Regions from separate parts of the Homo sapiens genome. Here region 2 is linked to region 1. Evidence: promoter capture Hi-C in 16 types of primary human blood cells and fetal thymus (Javierre and others, 2016). All regions are on one chromosome and are shown on one strand. Each heading gives the region's core, a stretch centred on a gene start or on the middle of the fragment in contact. The rest is flanking DNA. Distances are from core to core; before and after follow the strand shown. Region 1 holds the start of ZNF184 (zinc finger protein 184). Region 2 holds the start of TRV-CAC6-1 (tRNA-Val (anticodon CAC) 6-1).

Evidence for each region. Contacts are between HindIII fragments. The CHiCAGO score rates a contact against its expected background, and 5 or more counts as called.
Region 2: a contact is called between a fragment that was not itself captured here and the fragment with the promoter of ZNF184 in region 1, in 1 of 17 cell types (megakaryocytes). The highest score is 10.1, in megakaryocytes.

Annotation. Positions count from the first base shown.
Region 1 is chr6:27,470,500-27,474,845 of GRCh38, forward strand. It overlaps ZNF184 (zinc finger protein 184), which reads right to left and starts at 2,606. Exons shown (of 6, transcript NM_001318891.2): 1 at 2,230-2,606; 2 at 1,789-1,934. The coding sequence starts at 1,795. LOC105375001 (a long non-coding RNA gene) reads left to right here and starts at 2,625. Exons shown (of 2, transcript XR_926664.4): 1 at 2,625-2,810. RefSeq lists enhancers at 1,728-1,857, 2,188-2,277, 2,298-2,397, 2,458-2,617. The HindIII fragment of the contact is 5,482 bases long and covers 1-4,006 here.
Region 2 is chr6:27,206,112-27,210,457 of GRCh38, forward strand. TRV-CAC6-1 (tRNA-Val (anticodon CAC) 6-1) reads right to left here and starts at 49; the gene lies at 1-49. It overlaps TRS-CGA2-1 (tRNA-Ser (anticodon CGA) 2-1), which reads left to right and starts at 3,738; the gene lies at 3,738-3,819. The HindIII fragment of the contact is 2,255 bases long and covers 1,128-3,382 here.

The DNA.
Region 1 (4,346 bases), core at 1,356-3,855:
CTTGATCTTGACCAGTAAAGAAAAACTGTTTTGTAACAGAAGTCTTAAGAAAAAAATGAAGATATTATCTTGGAAGCTCTTAACAGTGAAAGAAAATGTTCTAAATGCACAGACAGGTACCTAAGACTTTAGGAAAACAGAATCAAGAGAAATGTCTCAGGTAAGATGCTTTTTATTCCAAATAACAGCAACCAACAGAACCAAAAACAGCAACAGTTACAGAAACCAACTGTGTGCTTGGCACATAGTAAATGCTCAGTATGTGCTACAAAAGTTATGATTACAAGGAACAGAGGCTCAGTAAAGTTAATCCTAATGATAAAATTGTGAGAAATCCACAAAATAAAGAAAATACAAAGGCTTTTAATGAAACTACTTTGGCTGATTTAATTCTGAGAAACTTAGAATATATATATAAAAAAATCCACTGTAAAAAAGACTTGAAGTACAAAAAATTGAAGAAAAGTATGGACCAAACCTACATTATTCACATGACTAATATGAATAATGTTAAGACTTCTAATGATATTATCTTTAACAAAGGCAAAAAAAGGACTGCATGATAATAGTTAGGTCAAACCAAACTTGATTGCACAGCCATACCTAAAGAATGTAAAGACAACACCAATGCAGAGAGAACTCCATAGGGACATGTCATAAGCCTCTATCCTTACCCTGATCTGTTCAATGACAGGTAGGAAGAAATAGAAGGAATATTCATCAAATCCGCTAGTGGCATTAAGTTAGAAAGGACAGTTAAGGCACTGAATAACTAAATTAGGATTCATAATCATTCTGAAAGCCTAAAACATGTGACCAAAAAATTGAACAGTCATAAATGTAAGTCATGACATTAAGGATAATAATAATTCCATTACACAAAAATGGTGTAAATCTAGATCACTGCAGTTTATGTAAAAAAGATCTAAAGTTTACAGTACATCACTGATAGTTTTTAAAGCAAATGTGATCTAATGCCAAACAGCGGAAGTATAATCCGAGTCAAAGGAAGTAGTACATTATCCTCTCAGGTACTTTTCAAAGCACATCCAAAGAGCTATGTTTACCATTAGGCACTGCATTTTAAGAAAAATGCTGACAAGCAGGAGAGTTTTCAGAGAAAGGTCTAGATACATCACATAGACCAATCAAAAGAAGTGAGGCTATATTGCTTAGAAAAGAATTTATGAGGAGGAGTTGTAACAGCTGAATTCACATATCTTAAGGGCAGCAGTGTGAAAGAAAGAACAGACAGTTTCCTTTTCTTTGGAGGACTAAGAACTAAGATCAACACAAAAGTTACAGGGACAAGTACATCTGTTTAATATAAGAAACTAAAAAAGAAAGCCAACAAGGGAATAGTCTGCACCCAAAATGGCGAGTTTAATGCCACACTAGTTCGGGCATAGGGTTGACAGACAGCCGTCTGCCAAGGAGATTTCAAAACTGACTCTTTCATTGAAGGGATAATTGCCAAGATGTCTTCTGACTTCAAGATTATAATTTTAATATTTAATATTCAGAAGTCATGTGGGGATCACAGATATTCTGAATGATTATGTCTTTTCATTCCCCAATGGAACGAAAGAAAAAAATAAACTCCTCTCCCAAGTATCTCTCTATAAAACAGAATCTCTCCCTACAATGTAATTCGGTTTCTTTGCTAATCCCTAAGCATACCGTTCCTTCCTTCCAAATCTCCTGCTCTGATCTCAAGTATTTGATACTCCAGTCATGACTGTTCTCAAGCCTCCATCACCCCGCTCTCCCCCAAGTCGACCCCACTACCTTCCATCTCAGGAGCTCATCCCGTTCCTCTGGAACTTGAACACCAGGGTTCGCCAGGCAGCGTTCCTTCAGCTGGTATCTCGGTCTAGGACTCAGATGTCTAACTCCCCTTGCAGGGAATCTGCAACACGCTGAGGTTGTCTACCCTAAAAGACACAGGATGGCGTCAGCAGCATACGTCACACAATCACACATCAGAGTCTTGCAAAGTGACCAAGAGGTGCTACACAAGAGAAGTGCCCCAAGAGAGCACTAGAGAGGTGTGTGGCACTCCGATGAACAAAACAGAGTGGAGATCGGGTACGCGGGTTCTGCTTCAGATCCAAAAAACCCTTGGTGCCCACCCTAGAATCTGGCCGGGGCATCCACAGACCTGGTGTGTTCCCTCTGTGCACACTTGTGACTCACACCCCTGCGAGCTCGGATAACACGAAGACACACCTGTTGCAGAGCGTTAAAGCTGGAAGGTGGACAAACAGGGCGGGGCCCGGCACCCGACTTCCCCTTAGGCCAGAACAAAAGAACAAAGCCCTCCAAGGGATCAGGGCGGGACCGCCCCGCACAGAAGGAGGCGAGGTGCGCCCCCTTCGAGGACTCCCCAGCTTTCTCCTGCAGAGGCCTCTAAGCGCGAAATCAGAAGGGTGACGTCACGAGTCCGGAGGGCTGGCTGTTGCCATGGTGATACCTGAGCTCCCCTCCCCCTATAGCGATCCACACACTCTGATCCCGGGTCCGGAAGCGCATTGACCGCCACCAGACCTAACGCAGGGAGCCGAAGCAACTGGACTTCCAGCGCGCCAACCTCTTTCCACGCCTACAACCGGCTTCAACGGTCACTTCCGGTCGTTACGAGCGAGCCCCGCCCCGCACGCCGGCGCCGGGCGGGCACACTGGACCAGCGTTCCCAGAACACTCCGCGAAGGTGTTCCTGAACTTCATTTCCCAGAGGCTTTAGCTAACGTGTACTTTCGCCCTGCGATGGGCCGCACATTTTCGCCGCCAGTCTTTTGCTCCTGTTTCAGGTATGCGTGTGCATTGTAAACTTGTCTGACTGAACTGATTATAAGAAATGCACGTCTACTGACCGAGCGCAGTGGCTCACGTCTGTAATCTGAGCACTTTGGGAGGCCGAGGTGGGTGGATCACTAGGTCAGGAGTTCGAGACTCAGCCTGGCCAATATGGTGACACCCCGTCTCTACTAAAAATACAAAAATTAGCCGGGCGTGGTGGCGCGCGCCTGTAGCTACTCAGGAGGCAGAGGCAGAAGAATCGCTTGAACCCGGGAGGAAGAGGTTGCAGTCAGCCGAGATCGCGCCACTGCACTCCAGCCTGGGCGGCAGAGCGAGACTCCGTCTCAAAAAAACAAAACAACAAAAAAAAAAAAAAGAAAGAAAGAAAAGAAAAAAAAGAAATACACGTCTACACACAGTTTTAAAACGCAAACAATCGTTACCTTTATTACATGTTCTACCTTCTATTTTCTGTTCTACTCTTTTGTCGTTTTGAAAATACTGGTAGTTACCCATTAAAATTGTTTTCACGACTCTCAAATGAGTGGCGACCAACTTTTTTTTTTTTTTTTTTTTTTTTGAGACGGAATCTAGCTCTGTTGCTCAGGCTGGAGTGCAATGGCGCGATCTCGGCTCGCTGCAACCTCCACCTCCCGGGTTCAAGCGATTCTCCTGCCTCAGCCTCCCGAGTAGCTGGGATTACAGGCATGCACCACCATCCCCGGCTAATTTTTGTATTTTTAGTAGAGACGAGGGGGTCACCATGTTGGCCAGGCTGGTCTCGAACTCCTGACCTCAAGTGATCCGCCCGCCTCGGCCTCCCAAAGTGCTGGGATTGCAGGCGTGAGCCACTGCGCCCGGCCCCAACATGTTTTTCTAATGCTTAAGGAAACCCGGAGATAATATTCCCATGTTTTGCCACTTAGTAAAGCATTTTATATGCCTGTGTCAGCGAGCACATAGCTGCAAGTGTAGCCCATGGCCAGTCTGTCACTGTGTCCTTGGCAGAAAAAAAGAATCCAACAAATCGGTAGGTTTTTATATTTAAGACATGGCACTTGCATTTTATTATGCTGGCGTGCATCCCCAGCATTTGGATAAGGGGCCAAGGTCAAGTCTCTCAGACTGTTGGCTGACAAACATTAAACCTGGAAATCCTAACAGAGTGTATGAAAAACAATTACAGTCAAGGGAACATGATAGAGAAAGCTTCGGTCATCTTAGAGAATGCATATATTGCCATGAAGAGAACATTGGTTTAAAAAAAAATGTTCAAGAGAATGAAAAGACAAGTCACAGACTGGGAGAAAATACTTGCAAAGTACATATCTGATAAAGAACTGATATCCAAAATATATAAGAACTCTTAAAACTCAACAATAAGGAGACAAACCGATTAAAAAAATAGGCCAAAGACCCTAACAGATGTCACCAAAGAAGATATGCAGATGGAAAATAAGCATATGAAAAGATGCTCCACATATGTCCTCAGTGAAATGCAAATTAAAACAATGGGATGCCACTATACACCTGTCAAAATGGCCAAA
Region 2 (4,346 bases), core at 1,005-3,504, 260 kb before region 1:
GGACCTTTCGCGTGTGAGGCGAACGTGATAACCACTCCACTACGGAAACAACTGTGGGAAAGGGTTACCCACATCCCCCCCGCCCCCATCCCCACCCCGCCGCTTAACTAAGAGGGCTTTGCCTGAAGGGCCTGGACTGCCTTATACGTCTGTTTAGAAAATGATCGTTGTGGTGCAGTTCTCTCCTTTTACTGTTTTCGAAAAGAAAAGCAATTCATAACCAAGCTTCCCCAGGGCTCCAATTCCCGCACAAATTTCAAACATGGAAAGCTAGAACGGAATGCTACAGAATTTTATTTCAAGACCTCCCTATGCTGTCTATGCACGTTTCTTTATCTGCAAAACCCGCCCCGATAGTCATATCTTGGTGACTTTTGGGAAAACCATGAAGGAGCGACCTGAGACCAGGAGATGATTGGAGGCCATCAGCACTTTCTGCCATAGCTGCTCTCATCATTTTGTTTGCAGTCAAATAACTAGAAGTAGTCATGGCTTCTGGGAAATATAGGGAAGCAGATGAAACATGCAAAGAACACCACCAACTCTGCTACAGAAAGCAAATGCAAAAAGATACAGTCTTTGCCCCCAAGGAAATCAGAGTCTAGTAATGTCTTCCTTATAAGATCATGATGATATATTTTTTCTATTGTCTTATTGCCCAAAGGTATAGCCATTGAAGACAAGAATCAAAACAAGATTATAGTTCATCTAACTTTTGAATCTTATGCTCTTTCTAGCACAATTGTACTGGACACATTATATTAAGGCAAAATATTTTAAGTCATCTTGGACTTGTAGCCTCTACAACTGTGAGAAAAGTAATTTTTGTTCAATCCACTCAGTCTGTGGTATCTTATGGCAGCTCAAGTTTACTAATACAGGTGTGTTTACTATAATGAGTACAAGCAGTAATCAGAATAGTCTGACTCAGAGATCTTTGACATTGATGACTATACTATATAACATCCCTAGAATTAAAATAAGTATGCAACTTATTAATATCTTACTTGATCTATATAAGCAGAAAAGTCTAGTAGATAGAAGTCTGACCTGAATCAGCAAAACAGAGAATCATGGCCTCCCAACCAATTCCCAGATATGAGCCAGCTTTGACTGAGGAGAAGGTAAGCTTCTCTTGAGAAAGAATACTCATAGCTTAGTACAAATTTATACTGTTATTCTTCCTCCCTTCTCTAAAGGGGCCTGTATCCATTTACCAGAGTGACTGTGCTTTGGGAAAGGGGAAATAGGCAGACTTTTCAGGAATTACTAAACAAAGATCCTGAACTGACATTAATTCCTAGAGATACTAAGCATCACTATTGTCCACCTGGCAAATTAGGGACTCAGAGAGGTCAGACATTCAATGAAATTTTGCCTCTGGTGCATTTCACTATAGGCACAGCAGATCCCTGAACCTACTCTGTAGTTATTTTCCCAATTCCAAACAGAATATTTATATTGTTTCTATGAGTGATAGAGTGCAGGCTATTATGGTATAAAAGGCCAAGGGGAAGCCACTGGAAATTCCTCTACCTATGAAAATTATAAACCGAAAGGAATATTGTACTCCTGGAGGGATTGCAGAAAGGATGGCACCATCAAGGACTTGAAAGATGCAGGGCTGGTGGTTCTTAGCATATCTCTATTCAACTCATTATTCAACTGCGGAAGACAAATGGATTATGGAGAATGATGGTGAATTATTGAAAATTTAGTCAGGTAAATATTCCAATTGCATCTGCTATTCCAGATGTGGTTTCATTAATGGAAATATTAACACATCTCCTGGTACCTGCTATGCTGTTATTGATATGGTTAGTTCTTTTTTCTCTATACTTAATCATTAAGACCATCAGAAGCAGTGGTCTTTTAGCTGGCAAGGCCAGCAGTACACCTTATCTGCCCTACTGTTGCAGGACTTTTCCTTAGTTCAGCTAAAGATGGGGTTCTTTGTCCCACAGCCATGAAAATTCAGGCTTGCAGACAATTTGGTGAGTAAGACAGGGTTTTATTGGGTGAAAAGGGAAAAAGGGGGAAACAGGGACTCTCGCAAGGCCAGAGTCCCTCCACTAGAGCGCTTCTACTTCCTGCCCAGCAGTTGGAATCCCAGGTTCCACATAGGAAGAGGAAGGGCCAGGATCCTCCCAGCTGCAAACATCATGAACTTCCTGAGGCTCCACCTCAGTGGGTAGGCTGGTTGGAATCCAGGGACCCCCTCCCACCTGGCTGTCTCACTACCTTGGGGATATATTGAGTCTCTAACCCTGTGTCACCAACTAGTCCACAGGGAGTTTTATCACCTTACCATTCCATAGAACATCATACTGGTCTCTTACATTAATTATATTTTTAGTGACAAGAAGGTAGCAACTACTCTATAACATTGGTAAGACATTTGTATGCCAGACGGTGGGAAATAAACCTCACAAAGAATCAGAGCCTTACTACCTCAGTGAAATTTCTAGGTGTCCAATTGTCTGCAACATTATGAGTTGCTGCATCTGATACCTTTTCTTATTAAGAAAGCGGTGGCCGGGCGCGGTGGCTCACGCCTCTAATCCCAGCACTTTGGGAGGTCGAGGCGGGCGGATCACGAGGTCAGGAGATCGAGACCATCCTGGCTAACACAGTGAAACCCCGTCACTAATAATAAAAAAAAAAATACAAAAAATTCGCCGGGCGTGGCGGGCCCCTGTAGTCCCAGCTACTCGGGAGGCTGAGCCAGGAGAATGGCGTGAACCCGGGAGGCGGAGCTTGCATTGAGCCGAGATCGTGCCACTGCACTCCAGCCTGGGCGACAGACTCCGTCTCAAAAAAAAAAAAAAAAAAGAAAGAAAGAAAGTGGTACAATACTGAGTAGAACATACTGAGTAGAACTCTTTGGATTTGGGAGGCAACATTTGGGCACGCTACACCAAACCATTTATCAAGTAACCTGAAAATATCCCAGTTTTGAGTGGGGGCCTAGAACAGGAAATGGTTCTGCAACAGGACCACGTTGCAGCTCAAGCGACTCTGCCACTGGGACCATAAGAACCAGAAGAATTGATCTTTCTTCAAGTGTCAGAGAAGAGGGATGTTATCTGGAGGCTTTGGCAAATTTCTACAGGTGAATCACGGCACAGAACTTTAGAATTTCAGAGCAAAGTTTTGCCATCCTCTGTGGGTAACTACTCTTCTTTAGACAAGTAGCTTTTACCAGCTTTTTTTTTTTTTAACCAGGTTCTTAGTACAGTCTGAATGCTTGACCACATACCACCACATTACCATATGGCCTCAGATGCAGATCTTGAACTGGATAGTGTGTGTTACCAAGCCATAAATTTAGACATGCACAGCAGCGTTCCATTATCAAATGGAAATGGGATGTATTAAATAAAGCTTGAGCAGCTCCTAAAGGCACAAGTAGGTTGCATGAGGAAGTGGCACAGCTGTTTATGGCATCTACTCTTGCTATATTGCCTTCTGTTTATTTGTGTGTGTGTGTGTGTACATCTACATCTATGGCCTCATAAGAGTTCTAAATGACCAGTTGACTGAAGAAGAAAAAACTCAAGAATGGTTTATAGATGTTCTGTATGTTCTGTACAATATGCAGGCACCACTTGAAAGTAAACAGCTGCAGCCCCACAGCCCCACATACAAATAAACAAGAGAGGCTAGCAGTGAGAATTACAGCATGCAGGGCCCTATGCGTATGTGTTTTTGATGCATAAATAGTAACCATTTAGAGGGCTGTGATGGCCGAGTGGTTAAGGCGTTGGACTCGAAATCCAATGGGGTCTCCCCGCGCAGGTTCAAATCCTGCTCACAGCGCTTCTCGGTACCTCTCTCTCTCTTTTTTTTCTAAATCACAAATCGCTGTGACTCTCAGTCTTTCATCTTATTTCACATACAAACTGAGAAGAGGGCCGCGTCCTATCTCGAACTCTGTGTTGGACCGCCCACCTTTACCCTAAGCACCCGGACCTGCTCCTCCCAGCTGAGCCTCAGTGAACCCCTGAGCCCCGGGCGGTGCTTCCATCAAAGATCTACCTACTCCTCAGAGTCCACAGGAAGCCTGGGGCTTCTTGGGCTTTCACAATAGCTGCTCACTTTGTTTTGAGATTGCTAAATGGGAAAGCAGCGACAGATTCTAACGGCAAAGAGGAAATTTTGCTTTAAAAATACAACTCCCCTCAGTCGGGCGCGGTGGCTCACGCCTGTAATCCCAGCACTTTGGGAGGCTGAGGCAGGAGAATTGCTTGAACCCGGGAGGTGAAGGTTGCGGTGAGCCGAGATCAGGCCACTGCAGTCCAGCCTGGGCAATAGAGCGAGACTCCGTCTCAAAAAAATAAATAAAA